5 separate regions of the Homo sapiens genome follow, and all the other regions are linked to region 3. Evidence: promoter capture Hi-C in 16 types of primary human blood cells and fetal thymus (Javierre and others, 2016). All regions are on one chromosome and are shown on one strand. Each heading gives the region's core, a stretch centred on a gene start or on the middle of the fragment in contact. The rest is flanking DNA. Distances are from core to core; before and after follow the strand shown.

What was found. Contacts are between HindIII fragments. The CHiCAGO score rates a contact against its expected background, and 5 or more counts as called.
Region 1: a fragment that was not itself captured here is called in contact with the fragment with the promoter of PYCARD in region 3 in 4 of 17 cell types (monocytes, M0 macrophages, fetal thymus and 1 more); the score reaches 10.3 in monocytes.
Region 2: a fragment that was not itself captured here is called in contact with the fragment with the promoter of PYCARD in region 3 in 14 of 17 cell types (monocytes, M0 macrophages, erythroblasts and 11 more); the score reaches 10.3 in monocytes.
Region 4: a contact is called between a fragment that was not itself captured here and the fragment with the promoter of PYCARD in region 3, in 9 of 17 cell types (M0 macrophages, monocytes, M1 macrophages and 6 more). The highest score is 18.1, in M0 macrophages.
Region 5: a contact is called between a fragment that was not itself captured here and the fragment with the promoter of PYCARD in region 3, in 3 of 17 cell types (monocytes, M0 macrophages and neutrophils). The highest score is 7.7, in monocytes.

The regions. Positions count from the first base shown.
Region 1 is chr16:31,039,357-31,042,056 of GRCh38, reverse strand. It overlaps STX4 (syntaxin 4), which reads right to left. Exons shown (of 11, transcript NM_004604.5): 9 at 2,406-2,516; 10 at 2,239-2,334; 11 at 1,893-2,145. The coding sequence ends at 2,254. Among named protein-coding and RNA genes, the nearest start is that of STX4, 7.1 kb to the right of the region's middle. The HindIII fragment of the contact is 8,081 bases long and covers 1-2,700 here.
Region 2 is chr16:30,964,172-30,966,871 of GRCh38, reverse strand. It overlaps SETD1A (SET domain containing 1A, histone lysine methyltransferase), which reads right to left. Exons shown (of 19, transcript NM_014712.3): 6 at 2,549-2,700; 7 at 1,411-2,260; 8 at 486-1,271. Among named protein-coding and RNA genes, the nearest start is that of SETD1A, 7.8 kb to the right of the region's middle. The HindIII fragment of the contact is 2,452 bases long and covers 225-2,676 here.
Region 3 is chr16:31,201,459-31,204,158 of GRCh38, reverse strand. PYCARD (PYD and CARD domain containing) reads left to right here and starts at 1,399. Exons shown (of 3, transcript NM_013258.5): 1 at 1,399-1,742; 2 at 1,956-2,012; 3 at 2,318-2,673. The coding sequence starts at 1,469. The coding sequence ends at 2,574. PYCARD-AS1 (PYCARD antisense RNA 1) reads right to left here and starts at 2,274. Exons shown (of 2, transcript NR_102400.1): 1 at 2,173-2,274; 2 at 707-1,699. RefSeq lists a silencer at 1,049-1,408 and enhancers at 1,519-1,748, 1,938-2,568. The HindIII fragment of the contact is 5,508 bases long and covers 219-2,700 here.
Region 4 is chr16:31,401,462-31,404,161 of GRCh38, reverse strand. ITGAD (integrin subunit alpha D) reads right to left here. Exons shown (of 30, transcript NM_005353.3): 6 at 1,917-2,047; 7 at 517-662. Among named protein-coding and RNA genes, the nearest start is that of ITGAD, 9.5 kb to the right of the region's middle. The HindIII fragment of the contact is 7,259 bases long and covers 1-2,700 here.
Region 5 is chr16:31,002,418-31,005,117 of GRCh38, reverse strand. All of the region lies in intron 1 of STX1B (syntaxin 1B), which reads left to right. Among named protein-coding and RNA genes, the nearest start is that of STX1B, 6.9 kb to the left of the region's middle. The HindIII fragment of the contact is 2,126 bases long and covers 274-2,399 here.

The sequences.
Region 1 (2,700 bases), core at 37-2,536, 160 kb after region 3:
AAGTAGGCAGGTGCCAGGAGCCGGCTTACCCTTTAAAACTAGGTGTCGGGGGCCGGGCGCGGTGGCTCATGCCTGTAATCCCAGCACTTTGGGAAGCTGAGGCGGGCGGATCACGAGGTCAGGAGATCGAGACCATCCTGGCTAACACGATGAAACCCCGTCTCTACTAAAAATACAAAAAATTAGCCGGGCGCGGTGGCGGGTGCCTGTAGTCCCAGCTACTCAGGAGCCTGAGGCAGGAGAATGGCGTGAACCCGGGAGGCGAAGTTTGCAGTGAGCGGAGATCGCACCACTGCACTCCAGTCTGGGCGATAGAGCAAGACTCCGTCTCAAAAAAAAAAAAAAAATTAGCCGGGCATGGTGGCGGGCGCCTGTAGTCCCAGCTACTCTGGAGGCTGAGGCAGGAGAATGGCGTGAACCCGGGAGGCGGAGCTTGCAGTGAGCCGAGATTGCGCCACTGCACCCCAGGCTGGGCGACAGAGCGAGACTCTGTCTCAAAACAAACAAACAAACAAACAAAAACTCTAGGTGTCGGGGAACAGGAGCCACGTCCACTCCAGAAATTAGGCATCAGGACTAGGAGCCCTTAGAAATTTAGGCGGTGGCTCACGCCTGTAATCCCAACACTTTGGGAGGCCGAGGAGGGCAGATCACGATGTCAGTAGATCGAGACCATCCTAACACGGTGAAACCCCGTCTCTACTAAAAATACAAAAAATTAGCCGGGTGTGGTGGCGGGTGCCTGCAGTCCCAGCTACTCGGGAGGCTGAGGCAGGAGAATGGCGTGAACCTGGGAGACGGAGCTTGCAGTGAGCTGAGATAGTGCCACTGCACTCCAGCCTGGGCAAAAGAACAAGACTCTGTCTCAAAAAAAAAGAAAAAAAGAAATTTAGTCAGGGCTTGGATTTCAGGTACCTTATGGAAGAAATCAGAGGTCAGGCTTTTCTGCTGCCACCACCTGCTTCAGCCAGGTAACCCTCAGCAACCAGGTGCACTGATCCAGGATCACTGGCTCTCTATGCTGCTGCTGCTGCTGCTGCTGCTACTGATGATGATTGCTATTATTTTTGAGACAGGGTCTCGCTCTGTCACCCAGGATGGAGTGCAGTGGGATGACCATGGCTCACTGCAGCCTTAATCTCCTGGGCTCAAGCGATCCTCCCACCTCAGCCTCTGGAGTAGCTGGGACGACAGACACTTGCCATCACGCCTGGCTAATTTGTAAAATTATTATTCTCTAAAGAGAAGAGGTTGCCCCATCCTGCCTAGGCTGGTCTCAAGCTCCTGGGCTCAAGAGATCCTCCTGCCTGGGCCTCCCAAAGTGCTGGGATTACTGGTGCGAGCCACCACACCCTGCCTAAACGCTTATGTAAAAGATGATGCTTTTGTTGGTCACAGGGCCCGGCCTCCTGTGCTTTCTGACTGGCAACCTCTTCCCCAGCTTAACATCCCACTCCAATGTCATCCCTGCTGAAACCAGACCATCCCTATCCACTGCATCCAAAGTGACAGCCTCAATTAGGCATTTTTTCATGGTGCCTCTTCCTCTGGGCCACAAGAAGGCCCACTGATGCCACCCAAACCCCCATCTCACCTGCGTCCCAGCCTGGCCTGGTCAGCCTCATCATTTCCAAGACAGATACTCACAGTGGTCCTTTCCCGGGGACAGTACTGAGCCAGGAGCTAGATGCCGGTGTTACCCCTCCCTGCCCACCCATTCCTATGGGGGTGCAGAAAGGCAGAACCAGCCTGCTGTGGGCACAGCACCCCTGGCAGTTTGACCTGAGCAGCCAGGGCCAGACCTGGCCCTGGGGACGTCCAGGAGGTAAGGAGGTTGGATGCCCGGAAGCCTTGGGCCAGCCCTTCCAGGAACACACGTGCACAGGGCTTTCTATGCTCTTTTTTTGTTTTTTAATTTTTTACAAAACCGTGTGTCCCGGCCAATCAGGACAGTGCAGGCCTCCCCCAGGCATTGAGGCCTGAAGGAGGAGGCCATCATGAATGAGCAGCTGCCAACCCCAGAAGAACTGTCTGCCCTTCTGCATAGGGGCCAGTGTGAGGAAGGGGTCCGACTGGAGGCTCTGCCCTGCCCCCCAGGCTGCTGGGAGAGAAGGCCAGGCCCTGGGTTCCTGGTGCTCCTAGTGCCTGTAAGGAAAGGAGGGAGAACAGGGTCTGAGGGAGGAGGGAGGGCTGGGGCCAGGGCTGGGGCAGGCCAGGGGGCAGCCCACAACATCTCACCAACAATGTGCGACATTATCCAACCACTGTGACGCCAATGATGACTGCTAGGAGGACGACGGTGATGGACACACAGATGGCAATCAAGACTTTCTTCTGTGGGAGAGGAGGGGGTCAGGGAAGTCACACAGGGTGCCTGGGGCAGTGGCCGGGCCTGGGAGGCTCACCTTCCTCGCCTTCTTCTGGTTCTCCAGGGCCGTCTTGACGTGCTCCTGCCCACGTTCCACGTAGTCCGCTGAGCTCAGGATGTTCTTCTCAATCCGATTGATCATCTCCCCCTGCTCAGAGGATGGGGTGGTTCAGGGAGGTAAGGATGCCTTTGCCCACCCCACCCCAGATGACTGAAGAACATTCCTGGCAGGAAAAAAAAATTGCACTAACAAAGACAAGGGCAAGACTTGATCTGACAAAAGTTCAGACTCCTTGGGGATGGCTTCCAGGCCCCTTCTATCATGTAGTCCC
Region 2 (2,700 bases), core at 201-2,700, 240 kb after region 3:
GTGGGGCTGAGCCCCAGCGCCCAGAACCCAGGCATTCCCTCCTGCCTGAGACCTACTCCCGGACCCCAGGAATACAGAACGCATCTACTTGCTGCTCCATATCTTGGTCACACCTGTCCCAGCCCCCGCACGGCATTTTCTCAAAAGTCTGTCATTTCGCCCACCAGTCTTAAGAAATAGCCACCATTCCCACTTCACAAGTGGCAAAATGGAAGACCAAAGCTTGAAGAGAGCTAAGGGCCTTGTCCACTGCAAGCCAGCAAGGAATGGAGCCAGGACAAAGCTCTGCTGCCTCCCAGGCCCATCTGTGCCTGCTTCTCTGTCCCCTCAACTCCCCTGCCCACCCAGGGTGGCCTGCAGGGCCTGCGGCCTCTCTCCACTCGCCTCCATCACCTGTCTCCTCTGAGCTGTGCAGCCTGGAGGAGCCAGAGGCCCATTTCCTCCTGCAAAGCCCAGGGCTCCCCGGTCCCAGGCGCTGGCCTCACCTTGGCCTTCTCCTCCTTGCTCTCCCACCACTGGTCAAAGGCTCCGAAGGCCACGTTCTCCACCATCTTGCGGTTGAGGTCTCGCTGCATGATGCTCTTCATCTCCTGGACCAGCATGGCGAGCACACGGCCCACGGTGCCTGCTGTCGGGAGGGTCTTGCCCTCTGCCAGCTCTGCTTCTTCCCTGGGTGGCAGCCGGGCCTCCTCTCCCGAGACTGAGGAGGAGGGCAGGGGCTCGGCTGCCATTGGCATGGGCAGGTGGTAGGCCTCCCGTGAGTATGCCCCTCTGCCCTCCTGCCCCTGTGCATATAGAGCATACGGCAAGCCGTAGGCTGCCTCCTGCGGGGGTGGAAACGGGAGGAAGGCCTCCCCAAAGGCCCCACCGGGGGGGCCAGCTGAGGCGGCAATCAATCCCTTGCCCTGCCGCAGCTGATGGAGCCGAGTTAACATCTGGGTCTGCATCTGGAAGGACATGGGCATCCCTCCCCACTGAGCCCCAAGTCGGTCCATGAGCTCCAAGGAGTTCACAAAGTCATAGATGTGCGGGGGTGGTGGAGGAGGTGGGGGGTACTCAGGGGGCGGCGGCCCATCAGGTCTGGGTGGGAGGAGGTAGGCAGGTTGGTGGGGAGGATAACCAAGAGGAAGGGACGCCAGGTAGGGAGGAGGAGGCGGCGGGGGAGGGGGAGGTGGCGGAGGCTGCTGAGGGGGCGTCGGGGCCGGAGGGGGTGAGCCACCCCGGTCGTCGTCGGAGATCTCCATGTCGTCTCCAGAAGAGCATGGAGAAGCCTGCGGGGGCAGAAGAGGGTCACAGAAGGCTTCTGCCTGACCCAAGCCCTACTTTCTCATCTGGTTCCCTTCCCTCTCCCCTAGGCCCAACCCTGACTCCCAGAGCCCAGGTGCCTCCTCTGGCTGACCCCAACCTCACCTGGTTCTGTCCATTTGCCTTGGGAGACTCCCGGGTAGCCCCTGGCTCCCCGCTCCCTGTAGGTGCCACATCCTCAAAATTAGCTGGGGCCGGAGGGGGTGTGCAGGGCCCATGCCCTGACCCAGAAGGCACCTCACTCCCTGTATCTCTGGCCCCAAGGACCATGCTGCTGTTCTCTTCCTCCTCCTCTGTGTCAGAGGCCAAGAAGGAAAACTTGGAGCGCTGCTCCTTCAGCAGCATCTCGATGCGGGAATCCAGGCTGCTGTGCTGGGCGAAGGGCACACTCTCATTGGTGGTCTCCGGGGCTGGGGAGCCAGAGCGGGCAGGGGAGGCTGGGCGGGGGGAAGTCCGAACTTCTTCTCTCTCAGGGCTGGGCCCTCCTCCACCCCCGCCTCCACCAGGTTCTGGAGGCTCCGGGGGTGGAGCCTCTGAGGCAGGAGGCCGGTAGTCCTGGTCGGTGGGCCGGCTGGGCTCGGGGGGCAGGTAGGAGGTGTAAGAAGGTGGGAAGCGCTCAGCTGTATTTTCAGCAAAAGGGGCTCCAGGGGGTTCCTCCCGTGTGGCCCGGCGTGGTGGGTAGGAAGTATGGCGCTGGTAGCGATTCCAGCTTTCATAATACGCTGGGTAGTTTGCATCAGAACTACGAAACTGAGAGGACGAGGAGGAAGAGGATGACGAGGAGGACGAGGACAATGAGGAGGAAGAGGCGGAGGATGAGGCAGTGGCTGCAGTGGTGGCGGCGATGGCCGTGGAGGCGGTTGTGGAGGCTGAAGATGCAGAGAAGTGGCGGCGGGAAAAGGCATCTTGGTAGCTGTTCTCTGACCGCCGGGGCTTGAAGGAGGTTGAAGTGGTGCTGGAGAAGAAGCAGGGGAGTTAGCTGGACTCAGCTCTCTATGACCAAACCACAGCGTACTGGGTCCCAGGGCCCAAAGCCCCTCTATGCTGCCCTCCAAAAGAAGAGCTATATGTTGGGTTCCTAGCTAGTGTGTTCCCCGAGGACAGCAATTTGTTGACTGAATCCACAGAGAAACTAGGACAAATTATTTCCAACTCCCTCTTGGAGACAGACTCTGGGCATCTTCTTCCCAGTGGCAGCTCCCAGACTTTGCGGGCGGGGCCCCAGGCGGGGTCTGCTCTGTACCTGCTGGAGTAGGCAGAGTCCTGAGAGTAGGGGGTGCTGCCCCGAGACGTGTAGGGGGTTCCTTGGGAGGACTGAGGTGTGAACTGGCCAAAGGAAGATGGGGTATCTTGTCGGCTGCTGGAGAAGCTTGTGTCCTGGGAGCAGGGGGTGCC
Region 3 (2,700 bases), core at 150-2,649:
GGGATTACAGGCATGAGTCACCGTGCCCGGCCCATCCTGGTTGTCTTGTTTGTTTTTGAGACAAGGTGTCTGTTGCCGAGTGGCACAGAGTGCAGTGGCACAATCATAGCTCACTGCACCCTCAACCTCCTGGGCTCAAGTGACCCTCCGGCCTCAGCCTCCCAAAGCACTGAGATGACATGCGTGATGAGCCACTGCACCCAGCCATGCTGGAAGCTTTTGAATACAACATGCTGCAGGCATCACAGCCTCATTCATTCCTTCACTCAGCAAATCTTTACTCAGCACCTAATGTGTTCCAGATACATTTTTTTTTTTCAGATGGAATCTAGCTCTGTCACCCAGGCTGGAGTGCAGTGGTGCAATCTTGGCTCACTGTAGCCTCTGCCTCCGAGGTTCAAGCGATTCTCATGCCTCAGCCGCCCTAGTAGCTAGGATTACAGGCGCCCTCCACCACACACAGCTATTTCCAGGTACATTCTTGACGCTAGGAATTCAGCAAAGAATAAGACAGTTAAGGTCTCCGATGCTCATAGGCCTCACATTTTAGAGAGGGATGAATGTCCAATAAGCATATAAACGTATAATATGTCAGGGTCGTATGACTACAAGGAACAGTGATTGTTACAACCCAGATGAGAGGGAAAAATAAAGGATTCCAAATATCCCCCTTGGGAAGTAGAGTCAGGATTCAAACAAAGAACTGTATGGCTTCAAGTTCATGGTCTTTAATCTCCTGGAGGCTGTCTCTCTTTCTTTTTTCTTTTTTTTAATCAGTGTTGGGATCAAATTCTGGCTCCCCTAGGAAGCATCTGGCAAGGTTTCGGGAGCCATCGGGTTGGCCATGTTATGCTGGAATATTTATAAGCACCGGAGGGTTATCCCCATGTCGTAGAAAATGAAACTGAAGCTCAGAGAGATTTGCACTCTCTGCCCTTTTGTACAACTCATTTTTCCCCAGTATGTGGAATTGAGGGAGCTTCACGCTTCTAGCTGTCATGATTCCAAGATTCTACGACATGTGGGAGAGGATCCTAAGGTTCGGGGAACCGCGGAGGTTTCGGGGTTCTAGAAATCCGAGGTTCTAAGCCTAGGTGCTCCAATAAACCCAGTGAGAGCCAGCCCAGGTTTCCGGTCTGTACCCGCTGGTGCAAGCCCAGAGACAAGCAGGCGCCACCCATGAGCCCCTCTGCGGCCCCCTCCCGGGTCCCACCTCGCAGGCCAGCTGGAGGGCGCGATCCTGGCGTCCCCCGACGGCCTGGGGCCCCAATCCAGAGGCCTGGGTGGGAGGGGACCAAGGGTGTAGTAAGGAAGCGCCTTTTGCTGGAGGGCAACGGACCGGGGCGGGGAGTCGGGAGACCAGAGTGGGAGGAAGGCGGGGAGTCCAGGTTCCGCCCCGGAGCCGACTTCCTCCTGGTCGGCGGCTGCAGCGGGGTGAGCGGCGGCAGCGGCCGGGGATCCTGGAGCCATGGGGCGCGCGCGCGACGCCATCCTGGATGCGCTGGAGAACCTGACCGCCGAGGAGCTCAAGAAGTTCAAGCTGAAGCTGCTGTCGGTGCCGCTGCGCGAGGGCTACGGGCGCATCCCGCGGGGCGCGCTGCTGTCCATGGACGCCTTGGACCTCACCGACAAGCTGGTCAGCTTCTACCTGGAGACCTACGGCGCCGAGCTCACCGCTAACGTGCTGCGCGACATGGGCCTGCAGGAGATGGCCGGGCAGCTGCAGGCGGCCACGCACCAGGGTGAGCCGCCCCCGTTCCCCTCCACCCCGTCTTTCCCCTCCACCCACACCAGCGCTTACCCCGCGGGCTCTTCCGCTTTCTGTTCCTCCTACCCCTAAACAAAGCTGCTCTACCGGAAAGGAGGCTCCCCACGCTTGGCCTACCGACCAACGGGACCCCGGCCCCACGGCGGGAAGGGAAGGGAAGGGGATCACTTGGCCCATATCCTTCCAGGCTCTGGAGCCGCGCCAGCTGGGATCCAGGCCCCTCCTCAGTCGGCAGCCAAGCCAGGTGAGGCCTCCACACCCAGCCCGGCCCCACCGCACTCCTGCACAGCCTGCATCTGTGCTCCCGCAACCAGGGCAGGGCAGGGCAGGGCAGGCACGGCTTGGCAACCCTGCGCACCCCACCCACCAACCCACACCCTGCGGGGGAAGGGAGACAATATTACCCTCATCCCACTGCATGTGGGGTCCTGGTGGCCGCCCCCTGGAGCCCTGCCCCTAGGCTTGCAGAGGAATTCCTGAAGAACTCAAGTTCAGCAGGGACAGGCCCCACACCCTGGCTGCTGGCTCATGTTCTCCTCCCACCCCCAGGCCTGCACTTTATAGACCAGCACCGGGCTGCGCTTATCGCGAGGGTCACAAACGTTGAGTGGCTGCTGGATGCTCTGTACGGGAAGGTCCTGACGGATGAGCAGTACCAGGCAGTGCGGGCCGAGCCCACCAACCCAAGCAAGATGCGGAAGCTCTTCAGTTTCACACCAGCCTGGAACTGGACCTGCAAGGACTTGCTCCTCCAGGCCCTAAGGGAGTCCCAGTCCTACCTGGTGGAGGACCTGGAGCGGAGCTGAGGCTCCTTCCCAGCAACACTCCGGTCAGCCCCTGGCAATCCCACCAAATCATCCTGAATCTGATCTTTTTATACACAATATACGAAAAGCCAGCTTGAACTTGTGTGTTTTCCTGCTTCTAGCCTG
Region 4 (2,700 bases), core at 98-2,597, 200 kb before region 3:
GACAATTCCTGAGTCCCTGACTACTCCATTCTCTGATAAAACCTCAGGCATTTATCCGACACCTCCTACGTGCCCCGGGCTGAGCACCCCACACACATGATCTCAATCCTAAGCTGTGAGCTTATCTTCATCTGAGAGTTACTGAGACTTAGAGCCCATCACCCCAGGGTTACACCCAGAGTAGCTCACGGGGAGCCAGGATGGGAGCCTGATGTGTCTGAGCCAAAGCCCGGGCCTCTGGCTGCTGTGGGGTGGGGAGGGGTCCTGGGGTCCAGGCTCTGCAGAACCAGGCAAAGGGGAGGCATAGCTGCAGAGGAGCCTAGTCCTATATCAGGGAGACTGGCAGCGAGGCAACCAGGAGCACCCCGGGGGGAGGTTCTCCCTGCAGCCCCGACATGCCCCTTGGTAGCCCCTTTCCCTGGAGCCTCCCTCAGCCTCTGAGAAGAGCTGTGCTGACCCAGGGTTAGGAAGTGGGGGTGGCAGTCACATCGCCAGGCTGGGGTCGGGGTTGCTTACACCACTGTCAGGATGCCCGTGGCCGTGAACGTCAGGCCTTTCAGTTGGACGATGGGATCCACCAGGCTCTGCTGGCTCGGGCTGGTCCGGAATTGGGTGAAGGTGAAGTGGATCTTCAGGAGGTTTGAGTACTGCATCAGTGCAAACTGCAAAGGCCAGTGGGGAGGGCCCAGGGCTCAGTGCCTGTTACTATTGTTTTTATTTTAATTTTTTGTAGAGACAGGGTCTCTCAAACTCCTGGCCTCAAGTGATCCTCCTGCCTCAGCCTCCAAGTAGCTGGAACTACAGGCACACGTCACATGCCTGGCTTTGTTTTTTGTTTTGTTTTGTTTTTGGTAGAGACAAGGTCTCACTATGTTGCCCAGGCTGGTCTCGAACTCTTGGCCTCAAGCAATACTCCCACCTCAGCCTCCCAAAGTGCTGGGATTACAGGTGTGAGCCACCACACCAAGCCATATTGTTTTCAGTTTTAATAAACTTTATTTTGGAATTATTTTGGATTTACAAACCATTTCCCATGTGTTTTGAAGCCCTACAAATAATATACTGAAACCCAGAGAAGAAAATTCATTGGCCCAAAAATACAAAATATAAACTGGAAAATCTAAACCAAATGATATTTCCTTCACAGTTTATTAAAAATAACTTTGCCAACCACAATATTTGCTACCCTTAGCTTTTTAAAAATTTTATCACACATTAAATCAATTTGTGTATTTCCTCCCTTCTCAAGAATTTGTGGCTGGGCGTAGTGACTCATGCCTGTAATCCCAGCACTTTGAGAGGCCAAGGTGGGAGGGTTGTTTGAGCCAGGAGTTGGAGACCAGGTTGGGCAATATAACAAGACCCCATCTCTACAATAAAAATTTTTAAAAATTAGCCAGGCATGGTGGCATGCACCTGTAGTCCCATCTACTCAGGAGGCTGAGGAAAGAGGATCACTTGAGCCTGGGAGATCAAGTCTGCAGTGAGCTATGATTGCACCCCCACACTGCAGCCTGGATGACAGAACAAGACCCTGTTTAAAAAACAAAACAGTGGGGTTTTTTTGCACATACATAGGCACTAGTTATGGGAAAATAAAATAATAAAAAGAAATCATTAGTTACATAGAAAATATGTCAGTCAAATTCCATAGCAAAATTATTTTTTAAACACTTTCAATGTTTTTAAACAGCAGAAACATTGTATTTCCTGTAGCTTTTGGATACATTATTAAATGCCAAGAGGGCCTCCTAGGTCAGGGCTCAAGTTGGGCCTGTGCTGGGACCATAGCTTCATTCTCCACCCCAGCCCCATCACACACGGCTCACTGGCCTGCCCCCACCCCTCCCGGGATGCCTCCCCGAGGCCAGCCTCCCCCGTCCCCCAAACCCCAGCCCCAGGTGCCCAGTCTTCACCAGGGTGTCAGTGCCCTCAAACTGGCCCATGACAGCTTGGACAAAGCCCTTCATCTGGTTAAAGTCATTTTGGTCAATGCTTCCAGAGCCGTCAATCAGGAAGACGATGTCCATCTCTTGATGTGGACACTCTGTGGGGGAATGGGGAGGAATCGGAGATGCACTGCGGGGGCCCAACCCCCTCCTGCAGCTCCTGCTCAACAGAGCCCGGGGGCTGTTCTTGGCATCCCCACCTAGTTTCCGACCCCTCCTTGGAGGAGGCCCCAGTCTGCCACCCCAGCCCCCTGCTCCCTTCCTCCCACATGGCCTGGAAAGAGAGGGATGACAACACAGGACCCAGGTGGGCTCCTCATCCATTTAATCAACAAATATTCATTAAACACAGATGCTAGGGGTGCCACAAGCATCAAGGGCGAATGTTTAGCAAAGTGGTTCAGGGCGCGTGTTCTGGAGCCAGTGTGCCTGGGCTAAACCCCAGCTCAGCCACGTGCTAATTGGTGAATTCAGGCACATTACTTAACTTCTCTGGACTTCAGTGTCCCTATCTGTAAAATGAAGGTAATATCAGTGGCTACCACGTGGGATCACTGCAAGGATAAAGCAACACGCACATGGGTGCTGGAGACAAGTCCTGGCCCTCTGCCAGGGTCAGCCGCTGGCACCATTCTCACCACGTGCCAGGCACCTTCGAGGCCTGTAGGATATGCCTGTAGGGATGCTGTGGGGGTGGGGCAGGGATCCACCCCAGACCCCACCCTACCCCCAGTCGGTCAGAGGTCCTTAT
Region 5 (2,700 bases), core at 87-2,586, 200 kb after region 3:
GAGTCTAAGTTTGCCTGGGGTCACACAGCAAGACAGACGGAGGCTGGGAGGGATGGCCTCCTGTCCAAGCTCTTCCTGCAGCCCTGGGCCCCTCCTACTGATTTTCTGTCCTGGCTGCAGGAGTTCAGCAGTCCTGAGGACATGGCAGAGTGGGCTTTTTAGGACCAGGAGGGACTGCCATCTGTCAGCAGGACAGAAGGGAGAGAGCCTGACATTTAGTGCCAGACAGTCCTGGGTTCAGGTCCTACCTCTGGCCTCATTTGCTGTGAAGCTTTAGGCAGGTCAGGCAACCTCTCTGAGCCTGTTTCCTTGTCTGTAACATGGAATCAGCCGGTGGTAGGCATTGTTACCACTCAGCAAATGCAGAGACTAGGCTCAGGGGTAGAGCCAAATGGTCTTCTAACAGCTGACCTGGGGCAAGTTCTTTTTTTTTTTTTTTTAAGAAACGGGGTCTTGCTCTGTCACCCAGGCTGGAGTGCAGTGGCACAATCACAGCTCACTGCAGTCTCTTGACCTCCTGAGCTCCGGGGATCCTCCTACCTCACCCTCCCAAGTAGCTGAGACTACAGGTGCGCACCACCATGCCCAGCTAATTTTTGTATTTTTTGTAGAGACATGATCTTGCTATGTTGCCCAGGCTGGTCTTGAACTCCTGGGTTCAAGTGATCCTCCCACCAGAGCCTCCCAAAGTGCTGGGATTACAGGCGTGAGCCACTACAACTGGCCTGAGTTATTTAGCTCTATGCCTCAGTTTCCCCATCTATAAAAGGGGGCTATAATAATACCTCCAAGGGGACTGTTGTAAGAATGAAATGGATAGATATATGTGGAGCACATAGAACAGTGCCTGGCACATTGTAAAACATCATCTAAATATTTGCATAAGTATAATTATGTTGGCCAATGGTCCTTACAGAGTCCTAATGAAGATTAAATGAGATAACAAGAATGTAAGACTTACGCAAAAAATACCATCAAGTGCTCTTGTTTTGCTAGGTTGTCCGGACACAGAGCCTTCCCCAGATTGGGACTTAGCAGGCGCTCACTGAGAGGGAAAGTAACTGGGAGCGGAAAGTCAGTGGGGGAGGTAGCCCAGTCTGGAGCCTAACAGCGGTCTTTGAGGGGCTGGATGCCCATGGTTTTCTGGCCCTATGTGGCCTGGGTGCCCTTGGGCAAGTCACTCTCCTTTTACCCCCCTGGCTTCCTGTTCCCTCATCTGTGAAATGGGGACGATGATGTTTATGCAGCTTTTCTCTCAGGGCTGGTGGTGCTGAGGATCAAAACGGATTATGGATGTAAAAGTGTTTGTAAATGGTAGAGGATTATTAGCTCCCAGCTCTCTTTGTATTTATTATACCAAATAAACCACACTTGGGCCTTCTATCATTCTTCCTGTCTTGAGGGCAAACAAATAGGTAGCCCAGGGTGCTCCAGAGATGAACCTAAGGGAGGTGGCTCCAAGAACAACAGGAGAGATTGAAATTAGATTTTAGGAAAGACTTCCTAACATTAGCATGGGGAAGGGAGAGACACAGAGAACAGGAAAGTCCTCAGGCACCCGGGCCAGGGAGAGGCCGCATGACCTGCGTGAGGCTGGTGGCTGAGTGAGTGGTTGAAGGGAGAGAAAGGGCAGAGGAAGGCTTTTGGCTCTAGGGGAAGGAGGCCTTGTAGCACAGCTGGATTTTGAGGACAGAGAAAGTGAAGAGCATCATGGTAGGCCGATGGGTCCTCAGAGGTGAGCCCAGCATCCCAGAGCCTCTCAGGGTCCCCAACTTATGCCACCTGTGCCGCCCCACTTTCTGGGGGCAGCTGTGAGCCAAGACAGAGGAAACTCCCTTTCCAGGCGGATGGTTGGGATTGTCTGGAAATTCAACACAAGTGCTGAACACATTTTCCGACACAGTGTGGGCCCAGCGTCTGTGTGAAGACTCCCTGGAGTTCCATTTGGGCTGGGCTTAGCAGGGAGGCTGGGGTGGCTCAGGAGCGTGGAGCTGGAGGCCCCCCAGGCTGTGCTGGCTTTTCCTGGGGCTGTGGGGCACTGCTGATCCTGAGTTTTGGCTGTGTGGACTGCACCTAGGTCCCATCTGGCCCTGTCTAGGTTCAATCTGAGCTGTCTGGGATCTGTCTGGGATCCGTGTGAGCCTCGGCTAGTTCAGTCTGAGCCTGTCTGGTTTCTGTTAGGCCCTGTCTGCGTTCCGCTGGGACCCTGGCAAGCTCTTCTTTTTGGATTCCAACTGAGTACACCCCCAGGTGGATGCTGTTTGGATCCTGTCTTGATTTCACCCAGCCTCTGGGGTTTGGATTCTGTCTGAGCTCTGGCTGGGTTCTTTTTGGAAATCAGAATGAACTCTGTATACATTTCCACTGGGGCTGATCAGGGCTCCAGATGTCATTAAGCTTGATGGACTCAGATTTTGCTGTCAGACCTCTGTCCCAAGCAGAGAAGGACTCAGGTGTGTGTAGCACAGGGCACCTCCCCTACAGCCTCTCCTGTCCAGCTCTGAGTGTGTGTGCAGACATGAGGCTCGGAGAAGCTGGAAGAACAAGCCCAGTGAGCCCTCCCAAATGTCCTCAGGGGTGCAGCTGAAAGCCAGTGTGTCCACACATGTCAGTGCGGCTCAGCTGTGAGTCTGCGTGCGGGTGAACGCCAGCATCAGTGCATCTCCGTGTGGGTGTCGGGGGGGCCTATTCCTGTGTGCC